2 separate regions of the Homo sapiens genome follow, and region 2 is linked to region 1. The links are contacts of gene promoters, found by promoter capture Hi-C in blood cells and fetal thymus (Javierre and others, 2016). All regions are on one chromosome and are shown on one strand. Each heading gives the region's core, a stretch centred on a gene start or on the middle of the fragment in contact. The rest is flanking DNA. Distances are from core to core; before and after follow the strand shown.

What was found. Contacts are between HindIII fragments. The CHiCAGO score rates a contact against its expected background, and 5 or more counts as called.
Region 2: a contact is called between a fragment that was not itself captured here and the fragment with the promoter of RRS1 in region 1, in 1 of 17 cell types (M2 macrophages). The highest score is 5.4, in M2 macrophages.

The regions. Positions count from the first base shown.
Region 1 is chr8:66,427,412-66,430,519 of GRCh38, reverse strand. It overlaps RRS1 (regulator of ribosome synthesis 1), which reads right to left and starts at 1,506. Exons shown (of 1, transcript NM_015169.4): 1 at 1-1,506. The coding sequence starts at 1,388. The coding sequence ends at 291. It overlaps RRS1-DT (RRS1 divergent transcript), which reads left to right and starts at 1,543. Exons shown (of 3, transcript NR_040434.1): 1 at 1,543-1,578. All of the region lies in intron 1 of LOC102724687 (a long non-coding RNA gene), which reads left to right. RefSeq lists enhancers at 1,258-1,627, 2,048-2,117 and a silencer at 1,768-1,857. The HindIII fragment of the contact is 6,678 bases long and covers 1-3,108 here.
Region 2 is chr8:66,164,449-66,167,581 of GRCh38, reverse strand. The region is part of intron 9 of TRIM55 (tripartite motif containing 55); the gene reads right to left. Among named protein-coding and RNA genes, the nearest start is that of CRH, 12 kb to the left of the region's middle. The HindIII fragment of the contact is 726 bases long and covers 1,209-1,934 here.

The sequences.
Region 1 (3,108 bases), core at 257-2,756:
AAAAAAAAGGCTGTTTAAGAATAGAACTCATTCCCGGTTTCCACCAAATTATTTCCCTAATTCTTAAATCCTCAAATAAGTTCTTAATCTCCAAAGTCTCGGTTGTGGGAAAAACATTAATTTGTGCAGTCCAACACTTACATACTTTCTTGACGGAAGGGCAATCCTGTCCCTTTAAACTCAATGAAGGCAGCGGCCAGGTCCTTCTGAGTCCCCGTATAATTGCCTAGAACTTAACATTTAGTATTCATAGTCCTTGGTTTACAGACGGGTCCGACAGTTAGAAACTATTACTTCCTCCTCTTTCCTCCTGGGCGCTGTCCTCCTTTTCTCTTGCCACCCAAGCCAGGCGGCCCAGAATTCATCTTGCCTCCCAAGCCCCCTTTCCTCTTCCCTCCCTGGCTGGGCGGGCCCCCTTTCCTCTTGCCCCCAGGCCCCTGCCGGCCTCCCTTTCTCTTGCCCTTCTGGCTCATTTTCCTCCTCTTGGCGGCCTCCTCCTGGTCCTCCTCCCTCATCTGCTTATTGGTGGCCCTAGTCACATCCAGCTGAGGCTTCTTGCTGTTCATGACACGAAGCAGCTCCAACTGGTTCTTTTTCTCGGCTGCAAAGTCCCCGAAAAGGGGTTGAAACTTCCTTTTCTTGCCGGAGCCCCGGGGCACCTTCTCCTTGGGGAGGCGCTCCTGAAAGCGCCCCACAGAGGCGGTGGAGACCTTGGCCACTTGCATGGCGCGGCCCAGCTCCTCCTTACTCTGGTGTCCGGTAGGGTGCAAGCCGGCCGCGCTGGGCAGCTGCATCTTGTGCGCGCGGGCCAGGTTACGCAGCCGGTTCAGCTCGTTCTTGGCCACCCTTTCCTTCTTGGCCTGAATCCGCTTGGCGAACTGGTCCTCCAAGGGGTCGGCATTGCCGGGCACCTCAATCAGCCATTCTTTGGTGTCGTCCCGGGCGCGCTGGTAGCCCCAGCGCCGCCGCCACTGGCCACTCACCTCGTCCCACACCAGGTTGGTCTTCTTCTTGGGACGGATGCCCTTGAGGCGCGCGAACTGCTGCCAGCGTGTAAGTGGCCGCGGTCGGGGCAGAGGCTTCTCTCGCGGCAGGCGTGTGGTGGGCTCCGGCAGCCGCGCCACTATCGCCTCTTCCACGCGCTCCGTGGGCAGCTGCCACAGCTGGTTGATGAGCAGTTGCGTGTTGTCCCGCGCCAGGGCCTGTAGCTCGGCCTCCGGCGTGGGTCCGGCGCACCGCAGCCCGGTCGGGGGGTTCCGGTCCGACGCCAGCAGGTTGCCCAGGTCAAACTGCAGCTCCAGCTCCTTGTGCACCGTGATGCGTTGCAACTTCTCTGCCTCGTCCTGCTCTGCCTTTGCGAGCAGCTCCTCCACGCTCTGGCCCTCCATGGCTCCGGCTCGGCTCACTCGCTTTGGGGCTGCAGCTGAAGTTACTTTTCCTACAGTGGCGGCCCAAACTCCGGCAGCATAACCACGTGCAGATGCCGGGATGCCCAATCCGGAAAAGAAAGGTTCGCTTCCGGAGCGTCCGGAAGCGGCTCGCAATCCGGGCGACCAGAGGAAAGGCCGGCAGAGGGCGGTATGGAGAGATGATGGGATTAGAAGCGGGACCTTTAGGCTGGCGCCAGATAGAGGCGGAGCTGGCCCGAGCAGGCCGCACTGCTAGTTCCAGAGCAGGATTGGGACTACGATTCCCAGGATGCAGGGGGCGGGAGGCGGTCTAGAGGGCGGTCCAGGGACAGCTCGGGGGGCCGCCTAGGGGGTGGTCCAGGGGGCGGTCCGGGGACAGTCTCGCAGGCGGTCTAGAGAGGGCGGTCCCGGGGGGCGATCTAGGGGGCGGTCTTGGGGGGGGCAGTTCAGGGAGTGGTCTTAGGATGGTGGTCCGGGGACAGTCTTGGGGCTCAATCCGGAGGGGCGGGCCGGAGGGTTTGTCCAGGGGCGCGGTCCGGGACCGGGGCGGGTACAAATTCCTGGGACTGCCTGTGGTGTGGGGTTCCAATCAAGTGCGTGTTACAATTTCAGTGTAAATCCGTTGTGAAGATGTTTAGACAATCACCCTTCTTAGGGCCAAATAGTTTCACTGGAGTCATAGTCGGCTTTCAGGGTTCCTAGTTGTGGCCCGAGAAAGATAACATCCCAAAGATACACATAGAGCTAATTGTAGAAGATTCGTTTTGTTTTGGGAGTCAGTGGCTCTGGCAATGAAGCCACCCCGAGTGGGCGCGGGTGTGCACCGACCCTAGTGAGCTAGCTGACTCGGAGATCCGGGATTCTGCAGTTACAGAACCTAGTCTAGTTCAATTAATCTAGTACAGTGCTGAAACTAAGCCACGCTCTGCAGTTACACTGCCTGGGTTCCAATCCTGACTGTGCCACTGTTGGTCCTTCAGCAATTTTACTTGTTGAGGCCGTTTTAAGGCCTGCGAGATAATGATAATAATACTTCCTAGGGTGGTTATAAGATAAATGAGTTAATATCGTCCAAGGGAGGGTTAGACGAGGGCCTGGAGCGTATGAGTACTCAGTACAAATTAGCCAAATACCGATTATTATTTCATTTTCATAGGCTCTGGGAGGTAAGTGCTACATGGTGTTAAGTATGAGTCAAACGGCCTACAATCAGGTATCAGGTCACCATTACTTGGAGAGGATGTTTGATCTAAGCCTTATTTATAAATTGACAAACATAAAACATTAGTTACTGCTACATGGTAAGAACTCAGTATGTGTTAGCTATTAGTATTAACTATGTTATTAATTATTGTATTAACTATATTATTTTCACAGATGAAACAAGGAGGGCTCAGAGAGGTGAAATGACTTATCTAAAGTTATGCAGTTAGGGAATATAAGAACAAGAGATATCTTAACTCTGGTTTTAAGTCTGTAGATCTATTCTCTGCAATGTCGTCCAAGCTCTTGATACTCATTAAAGTGTGGTCTGCATACCAGCAGCATAATATCCCCTGGGAGCTTGTTGGAAATGCAGAACGTCAGGCCTCACTCTAGATGTAATTTATCAGAACCTTTATTTTAATAAGATCTGTAGGTGACTAGGATGTACATTTGAGTATCAGAGGCACTGTTGATTGCGTGGTTTACAGGGTTT
Region 2 (3,133 bases), core at 322-2,821, 260 kb after region 1:
TTCTTCCTGACGTGGAGGAGGATGCTGTGGTGTGTACTGTTTGGTTTGTGTTAAGTGTGTTGTCCAGGAATTGATGGGATCAGGGTGGAGAGGACAGGTTATGGAAGTTGATATCACAGCCTGGCAAAAACTTGCTGCCAGCCTTCTTCTCAGATATGGAGCTGACAATTTTGTGTCATGTAGACAGTGTATGTATTCTTGCTCTTCCTGAAAAAAGAACTGGATTGTGAAGAATTAGGTCATTAATTCTTCACAGACAGGGGTTTCTTACATTGCGTTAGGCAAACAGACCCAACAGGTTGTCCTTAAGAACCATGGGAGGTCGATAGTATTACTATCAGTTATAGATGAGAAAGTTCAGACTCAGGAAGTTTGAGGACCTTGCTCAAAGTAACTCTAGGATAAAGTGCCAAGAGTTGTTCATAGAGACCAGAAGTCCAAAGGGAAAGAGGGCAGCTGGTGTTGTTGCACACCTGAGACTCGGGACAGGGTCAGCCTCTCCACTGAAGGCAGACAGAGAGGCAGGTTGGTTGACAGCATGGGATGCAACTGAAGGATCGGCTCGCCCTCATTTGCAGTGGACAGCTACATCCCTGCCAGGAGTGGAGGCCTAGAAACGACCCACCTGTTCTTGTGAGGCTGTGCCGATCTATCCTGAGTGGTGAGTCAAAGCAGAACAGCCCCTGGTCACGCTGATTTTTGCCTCAGTCCCATGAACCTAAGTGAAGTGGGGATTCATCCACTTTTCTTAGATGCTACTTGGCTTCCATTACACTGCATGCCCCACTTGGTGGAGGACGAGAGATCAAAAGGCAACAAGCTCCCAGCTACTCTGTGATCCTAAGCAAGTCATGCCTCCTCTAGAATCCTCATTTTCCTCCACTATAAAATGGGAAAGTTTAACAGTTCCTACTCTAGTGGGCTGTTGTGAGGTTTAAACGAGAGAATCCTTATGAAAGACTTTGTAGATGATAAAGCAATGGGCACACATTTGTTACAGCCACTGCCACGTGCCATTGTTTTTTCAGATGCATTAACACCTTGGTGGACTAACTCTTCACTTCGTGGAGTGTAGTGGAAGAAGAGGTGTACCATGAAAATCACTGAGATACACAAATAAAGACAGAAAAAATCCCACAGGATGTACAGCACTAACAAAAGTCTTAGGTTAAATCAGAATAATAAACAATTTGAAAACACAGGAAGCTTAGCTCAGCTAGCTGTGTCATAACAGCTCCCCAAGAGAGCTCTCCCAGAGCTGTGTTCACAGAATTGTAGAGTTGTAGGCACAGATTGCCAGGGGAAATGAATGAATTCATTACCCTACTCACACACAATTTACATTATATTTTCCTCTTTAAAATGGATACATCCATTTTAGCTTCCTATTAAAGTGACATTTACTTAGGATGCCATTTGATCCTGAGAAATGTAGTCTACAATTTTAGTATTGACTTTTTTATTGTCCTTCTGGTAAAACCCCCAAATTGACAGTTAATAGGAGATATAGTGACAGATATTGGGGGCCTTGAGGAGATTGAGGAGATGGCAGCCCAGCTGTGGGGACCTGGATGTAAATTTCCCCAAGGCCCCCAATATCTGGCACTTTCTCAGTAGGAAAAAAAAAAAGCCCAGAAAAATAATATTGCAGTTGTAGGGTACAAATGAAAAAGCATTAATAATGTTAATGTAAAGGTCTCATTCAAACTTACTTGTTAAAAAAATGTTACCCTCTCCTACAATTTTTTTTCCTAGGTAAGAATGTCTGCATCTCACTACCATAGCTTCTTATAATTTCCAGGATTATTAGGCCCCGGACAATATTTTGGAGTAAATATAGGCCAGTCCTGAGGACGGATCAGTTTTTCTCTATTGTTATCAAGTTGAAATTCCAGCACGGTCAGGGCGCCTGGCATATCAGCAACTTGTAAGCTTGAATCTCCTAATTTGTAAAACACATAGCAATTGCTCTCAGTAGGGATCTCTGTTTGAAAATAATTTGACACCCTGAATCCTTCAATTAAATTTAGAGAACAGAGTTAAATTTTCATTCACTTCCGTTTGTTTTGGAAAATTAAATAGATCATTTCAAAGAACCTGAGACCTATAGTCACACTCATGGGAAATCATGTTCTTAGTCTCTAGTTTTTTTTTTTAATGCTTTGTAATATCTTGTGAAATTAATCTTCCTCAGAAAAGCAGCTTCTGGCCCTCTAGCCTCCTGCATCTCTCACCTCTCAGTCTCTAGTGGCAGCTGGAGTGGACGTTTGCACTTGAAATAAGAATGTATAGCTTGGTCTCAAAAATCTTTTGCATAAAATGCTTTTATCTTTTTGCAAGTTATACCCAGTAGAGATGCGGGGCTCACAAAGGTTGCTCCTCCTTGGAACTTTGGCCCATTGTCCATCCTGGCTTAGGAAAATATGAATATTTTCAAGGGCGCTGAACCTTGAGTGATGTGAAAGGCTCAGGTCTGGGGACACGTGTATTGGTTTCTGAAAGACTGGGAAATAAACCCTGGGGTTCAAGGGGGAAAAGAGGCTTTGCTAGCCCCTTCCTCCCTTACCCGCTACCAGTCTTTTAAACCATTTAAACCATAAGTCCCCTCCTTCCTTCCTTCCTTCCTTCCTTCCTTCCTTCCTTCCTTCTTTCCTCCTTCCCATTTTTCCTTTCCCTTCCATTTTCCTTTCCTCCCTGCCTTTTTTCTGTAATGTAATGTTTTTTATTTTCCTCTGGGATCACCTTTATAATCTTACAAAACAACTATCACAGAGCCTGGGTTGGAGACTAAGAGGACTGCAGGCTGGTTTTCCTTGGCGACATTTTCTCCACTGCATCTGCCTATAGTAGGCTATTGGCCTTGCCCTCTGCATCGCTGCTATTTGAGAGTGAAGAGCCATAAGGTGTGAGGAACCCACTTTGTTCCTGAGGCTGTCTCTGAGATAATTATGTGTCAGATAGAAAGAAACTGGGGACACTTGGGAAAGGGGAAGGGACTATTTGCACCTTTTTGTTGATACTTGGGCTGGGAACCATTGGACTTTCTCAGCCAAGAGGACAAGCCAGTGCTGGAAGTCACTGGTCCATGACAGGTGGCCTCTGCAGTTTTGTGGAAACTGGTTTAGACAGAACA